Regions from separate parts of the Homo sapiens genome. Here all the other regions are linked to region 3. Evidence: promoter capture Hi-C in human tissues and cell types (Jung and others, 2019). All regions are on one chromosome and are shown on one strand. The core of a region is centred on a gene start or on the middle of the fragment in contact, and the rest is flanking DNA. Distances in the headings are between cores, read along the strand shown.

The links. The method cuts DNA at HindIII sites, captures the fragments that hold promoters and counts their contacts. A contact is called where the count stands out against the background at its distance.
Region 1: a fragment that was not itself captured here is called in contact with the fragment with the promoter of IZUMO3 in region 3 in 6 of the 25 tissues and cell types used here (dorsolateral prefrontal cortex, lymphoblastoid cells, mesenchymal stem cells and 3 more).
Region 2: a contact is called between a fragment that was not itself captured here and the fragment with the promoter of IZUMO3 in region 3, in 4 of the 25 tissues and cell types used here (H1 embryonic stem cells, mesendoderm cells, pancreas and 1 more).

What each region holds. Positions count from the first base shown.
Region 1 is chr9:24,731,760-24,734,598 of GRCh38, reverse strand. No RefSeq gene overlaps it. Among named protein-coding and RNA genes, the nearest start is that of IZUMO3, 190 kb to the right of the region's middle. The HindIII fragment of the contact is 7,028 bases long and covers 1-2,839 here.
Region 2 is chr9:24,342,275-24,345,242 of GRCh38, reverse strand. No RefSeq gene overlaps it. Among named protein-coding and RNA genes, the nearest start is that of IZUMO3, 200 kb to the left of the region's middle. The HindIII fragment of the contact is 4,200 bases long and covers 1-2,968 here.
Region 3 is chr9:24,544,318-24,547,217 of GRCh38, reverse strand. IZUMO3 (IZUMO family member 3) reads left to right here and starts at 1,321. Exons shown (of 7, transcript NM_001365008.2): 1 at 1,321-1,794; 2 at 1,932-2,006; 3 at 2,157-2,246; 4 at 2,458-2,475. The coding sequence starts at 1,569. RefSeq lists an enhancer at 1,672-2,871. The HindIII fragment of the contact is 4,602 bases long and covers 1-1,992 here.

The DNA of each region.
Region 1 (2,839 bases), core at 77-2,576, 190 kb before region 3:
ATAAATGAACAAATGAATACACAAAGCAATGAAATTAGGAGTCTCAAAGACAGATAATGAAAAATTAAGTCTTTCTACGGGCTTTATAAAAGTAGATTAACATAACAGGTAAGATGAAAGCGGTACCTCTTGGCCAACCTTTGATATTACTGATAGGGAAATTGAAACCTAGAAAGTTTAACAAAATGGCTAGTGCCAAAGATTTTTGCACACTGACTTATGCACTGATTCCACTTTTTTCTTCAAAGATTTGAGATATCATACAAGGATTTATTAATTCCAGTAACAAACACTATATAAATGTATGCCCTCAATTATTCAAAAAGACTTCATGCGTTCAGAAGTACTCCAATGAACCTATCTCCCAAAAGTTTATTTAATGTTGATGACAGCGCATGTAAGCACATTCTGCCATAAAGTGTGCAGACAAAGTAGTGGTAAAGATACTTTTAATACTGCCCTACCTATTGATGCTAATTTGTATAAAATGCAAATGAGAATGTGTATTCATCAACGCCCTAAATGTTTGAAAGTTGTATTATCTTTACAACCTTCTTTCCTTTATGCTGCTGTGACACTTCAGAAGAGCAGAGTACTAGCCTGAACAGGTCTACAATTCCATGTAGTTAAATATGTGCTGCTACCTGACGCTGTGCCATATAATACATTTTAAATAAATGTTTCATCTGCTCTCTGTGCTAGGAGGTGATTTTACTCTGAAGGGCATTATTTTATGAATTCAATAGCAAATACTACAGTAGGCCTAGAAGTGGCCTCTTGGGCTTTTCTTGATCTATTCTTGAACCTTCAAACAGTTGGAATATTTTAACCATTACGTAAACAAGTATTGGCCCACATGCTGATACCTTAATGAATTCAGGACAGGATGATCAGAATTAAGCACTAAGACGTTAAAGTTTAATCATCTCTAACTCTTTACTTTGGTTTTTTCCCACCTAAGTTTTCTGTGGATGCTGAGTGTGGCAGAATGCTAAAGCAATCTTTGGAGACACTAGAGAATATAAAGAAACAGGAAAAGTTGTGATAGGAGCTTGGCAGTTCAGCAACCTCCCTTTGCCTTGGGAAGAGCAGAAAGTTTGCAGGCCTACAGGAGCCATTGCCACCTAGAGTGTTCTAGGTTCCAAACTTAAAACAAATAAAAAGGGAGGAAATATGACATCCTTTCCAAAATACCAATGATGCACAGACATAAGCCGCATGCCTAATGAAGAATCTTATATTGCACTTTAAGATCATTTTCCTCTGTCTGGTCTTTATCTGCATTTCCTGACTAACTTCTGCATTGATTTTTCTAATTTATATGATTTTGTGTCAAACTATGACAATGCATTTTAGATTGTATCTTCACTTTGCTTAGCTTTTAAATATATTACAATTCTTATTTATAAGTATACAAATTCTATCTCGGTTAAAGTGCTCTTAATTACAGTTCAGTATTATATACATATGTTATATATATGTTTTTTCATATATATATAAATTATTTAAAGAAATAGTTTTCTTTTTAAAAAATGTCTTTTGTGACTGAATCTTTGTCCAAAGGTCAATCCAGTTCACTCTCTACCCATTTAAATATAAACACTGGAATAAGAAAGAATGACCTTATCATCCACACAAACAGAAAAATCTTCACACCCCTGTACCTGGGGTAAGTTAGCTGCATGAGCTAGTGCATGCTATTATAGCTACTTGGAAGATAAATTAGAGTGGAAATAAAATCATACATGCATCATAAAATATAACCAGGACTGACTAAATAATCTATGAGGTCCAGTGCAAAATGAAAACATAGGGCCCCTTTTCAAAAATTAAGAATTTCAATATGGGAAAAGCCAAATATTAAATCATGTGTGGGGCTTATTTAAGCTTGGGTCGTGTGACTGAACAGGTCCCATACTCATGTAACTGGCCCTGATTTCCATTATTTTATCTTAATTTCTATAGATGATTTTCTTAATACTTTTTTTGAAGTGGTACAGTAATAACTCTAAAGGATGTTTTCTTCCTTGGTTAAACTTGGCCTTTGACATTTAAACTGTTTGAATGATACTAATTTAAGATAAAATCACTAGACTGGTTGATTGAAATATAAACTAGTGATATAAAAAAAAACCTTCATAAATAACAAGTTGAAGACTGTTCTCAGAGAAAGTAATAGAAATGCCAGAGAAGTTTTGGGCTTTACTGTGTTTAGAAATGTTTTACACTGAGAGATTAAAAACACCTGAAGAATGAATGAACAAAAATGGTGTAAATAAAATTTTTATCTGAACCTAAATAATTAATTTGGTGAGAGCTGAGATGTTGATTTGAAAAAGATTTGTGGTTAGCTGACAGTGGAAATAAGGGGGTGAGGCAAGGTGAGCTTAAGAAAGTTTTTTTAAGTACAAATAAAAGTTAAAAGCATTGTGTCAATTTGTACTTGCAAGTGGCTTTTCTGTTGTTCTTGCTGGAGTATTTTGTGCTTTACACTTAAATATGAAGCTTTATAGCTAATAGACTTGCTGCTTAAACAAACGTAATAGTGATGTGAGGATATTGAATGATACAGCCTAGCTTAATCTCCTGTTTAATGGTGATGCTAATGGATCTACCTTAATATGCTCCTCCAGTGAGTCACCACAAATCCTACTGTGGCTGACTTCAGAAGAGAACACATATTATTTCCAAAGTTAAAACTGTGCCAGGGTCCTTTCCTGAAAGCAGTATTTTATGCAGAGTCACAGTAATATCTCAAAGATAAAGCTTATTGTGGGATTTAGAATAAAAATTCATTTAGGAATGAAGCCTCTTAGAACTCTAGAAAGTCTGGCCTTAA
Region 2 (2,968 bases), core at 351-2,850, 200 kb after region 3:
TCAGTAGCACTTATTAAGTAGCAAAATACTTGGAACATAGCAGCTACTCAGTAAAAGTGAGTTTCATCCATTATCCCCCAACACCTCCACCCTCCCTGGTTTTGGACAAATATGGAAATCCCTTTGCATTCTCTTTCATCTCCAAAATGTCTGGCATATTCCCCATCTCTGACGACCATGCCGATATAGATATATAGCTTGATGGACATCAGTGATAAATGAAATGTTTTGTAGGATTATTGATCTTAATGCTACTTAAAGCCTTAGAGATTTAAAGAGGAAGGAGCTTTATACATTGCTGACTCCAAATCTACTACCTTCTCTCTCTGGTCTTTAGATACCTCTATTTAGTTTAGTCCAATACTCATGTTATACCACACTTTATCCCTACATTTAACTTTCCAACTCCTAAAACAGAAGCTCTCATTCCTAGCTGCATAGTAGAATCGTGTGACACTTTAAAGATACTAAGCTCATAACTGCAATGGTTTTAAATGTGCTTGATCATTAAAATCACTAGAAGAGCTTTCAAACTGTATATTGTACCCATGACCAACAGAATTAATATATTTGGGGTGAGGCCCTAGTATTTTTTTTCAGAAGCACCTAACGTAATTCTGATATTCATCTTAGCGTAGACACCACTGCTCTATTGAACCACACGACGCTCAATGTGTCTTACCTCATCAAGTCATACCTCACACTTCAACTTGGATTTAGGAAAATGAGGAGCAAAAATCGTAAAGCACATGATTTTTTTTGATGTGGTATTTTTCTGATGTCTTAAATATAAAGAAGATACACTTTTCTTTTTTTTGAGACAGAGCCTTGCTCTGTCACGCAGGCTAAAGTGCAGTGGTGCAATCATAGGTCACCACAGCCTCAAACTCCTGGCCTCAAGTGATCCTCCCACCTCAGCCTCCCTAGTATCTACGACTACAGGTGTACACCACATGCCTGACTAATTTTTTATTTTTTGTTAAGATGAAGTCTTTCTATGTTACCCAGGCTGGTCTTGAATTCTTGGTCTCAAGTGATCTTCCTGCCTCTGCCTCTCAAAGTGCTTGAATTATGGATGTGAGACACCACTCCTGGCAAGAAGACATACTTAAATAGAGATATTACACTCTTGTAAAGGGTTTCCACTCCTCCTGGGGTAGCTTTTGGAGTAATTCTGACTTGTTGAGACCTCTACTCCTGGAATATCACAAATGCTCAATCTATCACTGACTATGAGAAACCCATTAAACAGCAAGTAGAACTCCCCTCACTGTGACAGGGTGTCTACCTATATACTGAGAGAAATGTAAGAGGCTGAGTGTGAAAACTGCAAATCAATATGTAGAAACCATGATAAATATGCAAACTGGTGATATAAAAACAAAGCACATATGGCAAGCATCAAGAGATGGACAGGTTCCTATACTAAACAAGACCTTTTTTCTTCATTCTCTTCCCCATCTCACATTTTTCTTCAAGGTTTATTTCTAGACATATCACATTCTGAAAGAAAATGAGCTACGCTGACAAAACTGGTACTCTGTGGTTGGCTGGTTGCCAGATAATATTCTCTTTCTATATACAAGATTTTACTTTTAATTAGCCTGGATAATTACTATTGAAATATATACCTATTTCTGTGTATTTGCTTCCTGGTATCTTTCAGACACTTGATGAGGATAGAGTGGTGAAAAAAATAATCATAATATGAACCATTTTTGACATTAAATCCTGTTGCACAGAGCCTCATAGCTACATGGCTATTTCTCTTAACTCGTTTGATATTCTATTTATAACACAAGCTCAAAAAGCCAGATGTGTTCACCCACTATCTTGTTTCAGATATACAGCACTTTCCTTACTGGAGCCTGAATAGAAAAATATCAAAACTGTCTCCCCTCCAGTTTCATTTGATCTACAGATGACAATTCATTAAGTAGCCCATCTGATTTGAAAAAGTCGAAGAGCTAAATAACACAGACAAGGATAAAAATATGAAGCTTTGGAAATCGTAGACTATTTAGCACCTGGAGTCCTAAACCTCATGTGAAGACTGCTCTAAGTCACTTCATTTTTGTGGCCTCAGAAACAGAGAGAAGAAAGTCTTCTATAAAAGTAAAAACACCCTGAAAAGAAAAACCTTGCTGACTAGGAGATATGTTTGTTTTCTCATAGCACGTTGTGCATACTGCTGCCACAGGATTTGTCACACTGTTTACCTGCCCACTTCCCCCATGATTCTGAGACCTTGTTAGGGGCAGAGACCATATTCTACCTGGGTCACTGACATTCATTACAAGCACTTGATAAATGAGCCCCTTTCAATTTATTTTTAGATAAAAACTATTCTTAACTTATAAAGAAGGAAAGTAGACTACCAAGATGGAATGCTGAAACACATGCTTTCTATAGCCTGACTTCTTGAATTCAAATCTTAGTTCTTTCACTTACTATCAGTCCATTTTGTGCTCCTACACCAAAATATGTGACAGTGTGTAATTTATGAATAACAGAAATATATTTGTCACAATTCTAAAGGCTGGGAAATCCAAGATCAAGGTGCTGGCATTTGGTCTGCTGAGGGCCTTTTTGCTGTGTCCTCCGATGGCAGAAAGCAGAACAGCAAGCTGGCTGAATTTTGCAGGAAGACTTTTTAGAAAAGGGCATAATCCCATTAACAAGGAAACCAGCTTTCTTGGCCTAATCATCTTATAAAGGCCCAACTGCTTAACACTATCACAGTTACAACACCTGAATTTTGGAAGGGACACACTCAAACTACAGCAGTTACTTTGGGCAAGATACTTAATATCTCTCAACCTCAGTTTGTTCATTCTAAAGATAAGCTTATAATAGTATTTACTTCATAAGGCTATAACAAGGATTAAATGAATCAACAGGCAAAGTGCTTAGAACAGGGCCTACCATACATCACATGCTATAGTGTTCACTACTTTTATATGCTGTT
Region 3 (2,900 bases), core at 72-2,571:
ATCTTAAATATAAATTCTACCACTAACCCTGTAGATTGCCAGTGTTTCCTGGTTTCCAGAAGGTCACAGCCATACAGGCAATGTATTAGAAAAGAGGTAACCAGTGCTCTTAAGAGTCTGAAAAGCAACCTCAATTTATTCAAATAACACAGAATATTTTTATTCAAAGGGCCATTGAAAGGAGAACATGTTTATTTGGACATCTTCCTTGTAGGTGGTCTGAGAGGGAAGCCCATGATAACCACTATGTTTTTATATGTTACATACTTTGCCAGTATTTTAGAATGCACTTGTTAAAGGATCTGAACTTTATTGGATTCATCACTCAGTATTCCTCAACTATTGTTTCTAGTATCTGACTCCACACTCTCTATAAGAAGAATGCTATAAAAAGATTAGAAATCACCAGGCACAGTGGCTCATGCCTGTAATCCCAGCACTTTGGGAGGCCGAGGCGGGTGAATCACCTGAGGTCGGGAGTTCAAGACCAGCTTGACCAACATGGAGAAACCTCATCTCTACTAAAAATACAAAATAAGCCAGGCATGATGGCACATGCCTGTAATCCCAGCTACTCAGGAGGCTGATGCAGGAGAAACACTGGAACCCGGGAGCGGAGGTTGAAGTGAGCTGAGATCATGCCATTGCACTCCAGCCCGGGCAACAAGAGTGAAATCCCATCTCGAAAGAAGAAAAGAAAAGAAAAAAAAGAAAAGAAAAGAAAAGAAAAGAAAAGAAAAGAAAAGAAAAGAAAAGAAAAGAAAAGAAAAGGAGAAAGAAAGAAGGAAGGAAGGAAGGAAGGAAGGAAGGAAGGAAGGAAGGAAGGAAGGAAGGAAGGAAGGAAGGAAGGGAAAGAAAAGAGAAGAAAGCAAGAAGAAAAGGAAAAGATTACAAGTCATGTCTAGAAAATCATCCTAGTGATAAATGTAGCCTGAAATATGTTACTGTCTATTAAAATTGCCAAATATTATTCTAGATAAATGCTCACTCCTTTATTCTCAACAATACTGCCACCAGTATTTGTCAACAATACTGCCCCAGTAGGGACCGAGACCCGCAAGAAACTCAATATTCTTGGCTTTTCTTACCTCTAATGTAGAAGCAGAGTTTGAGTTAAGCAATCTCTCAGGTTCTATAGGATCACTTCCATAACCCATCTCTGATGATAAACATCTCTGAAGGTCAGGAGGGGGTTTAAGAGTCTCATGAGGATGCAAGTCAGGGAGAGGGCTAAAGAAACACTTTTTCTGAGACATCTCCCTGCACAGAACTCTGCTTGTGTGAGCTCAAGGCTTCTCTATCTCTTGGTGTTCTACACTCAGAACTCAGGTATCCGCTCCCCAGCTGGCAGTTCCCTCTCCTAGAATGAAGGATAATAGTCAGTAAACAACTAAAGATCATTAAACTAAACAACTAAAGATTGCCCGATAGTGGGATGGAAACAGCGGGAAAAGTGGAGTCAGACTATCCAGAACCAGGCTCTCATTCCCGGATTTTTGAAGGAAAAGGAACTAAGTGAACTAGTTGCCAGGACAACCTGCTGTCGGGGAGCGGGGGTGAAGAAAGAAATGGGTGACCTGTGGTTATTCCTGCTCCTGCCCCTCTCAGCCTTCCATGGAGTCAAAGGCTGTTTAGAATGTGACCCCAAATTTATAGAGGATGTTGGCTCCTTGCTGGGAAATCTGATACCTTCAGAAGTCCCCGGCCGAACTCAGCTGCTTGAACGGCAGATTAAGGAGATGATTCATTTAAGCTTCAAGGTCTCCCACAGTGACAAGAGGCTTCGGGTGTTGGGTGAGGGAAGCTTGAGTTCCTGAGAGTCCAGGGGCTTAAACGGAGAAGGGAGGCAAGGAAGAGAACACCTGGGTCTACATAACTTCCTGCATAGATGTAATTATTCCCCTACATGTACCTTTACTCTCCCTCTCTAGCTGTTCAGCAGGTTGTTAAGTTGAGAACATGGTTGAAGAATGAATTTTATAAACTGGGCAATGAAACATGGAAAGGTGAGGTACTGTTTCAATGTTAAAAGTTTGTATTGCTCAAGCAAGCCTCAGAAAATTTGGCTGGGGAAAACAAAGATAAAAACAGACATAATTAACTTCTGAAGGGAAGAGCTACTTCTATTTTTTGACACCCCTTCCACTCCCTCTTAGGTGTCTTTATCTATCAAGGCAAGCTTCTCGATGTCTGCCAAAACCTGGAATCCAAACTGAAAGAATTACTAAAGAACTTCTCTGAAATTGGTAAGTAAAACTTTCTATATAACAGCACTGAAGTTATATGAAGGGAATAGAAAATGCGGGATGAGGGAAGAAATGCAAGTTCATAATAGAGTTATTTAGAATGGGTGGAGAGGTAACTGGAACTTAAAGGGTAAACAAAGACTACTTGGGTATAAATATGGCAAACTGTAGCTGGTTTTAAACTCATTAGAACTTTCTGATTCTCTTCTAGCTTGTTCTGAAGATTGCAGTGAGTACAGTACATGTGACGCCTTGAGGTTTCAGCCCATATTTTCCCATCTCCTTTGCTCTATATGGCCCTATCTCTCCCACCTGTTACACTGGGAAACCAATTCCTAGAGCTGTGGTTACAAGGGGTAACGTCAACAATACCTGATAACGAAACCTAGCTCATGAAATCTCAGACACCCCACATATTTTTGAGGTACTAGGAGGCCTTCTAACATATGGTTTACAACCCATTGCCCCAGTATAAGCTGAGGCATCCTTTTCCCGCTTTTTCCTGGAGATCAGACTTACAGATTTTGATCCATCAAGAAACTTGATTTCTAGGAGAAGAAGAAATTCACAGCAATGCAAACTTGAGAGTCCTGGGAATGCTTGAGATCAAATCCTCCACACTTGATGTATGACTAAGGAACCCTCGTGCCATGC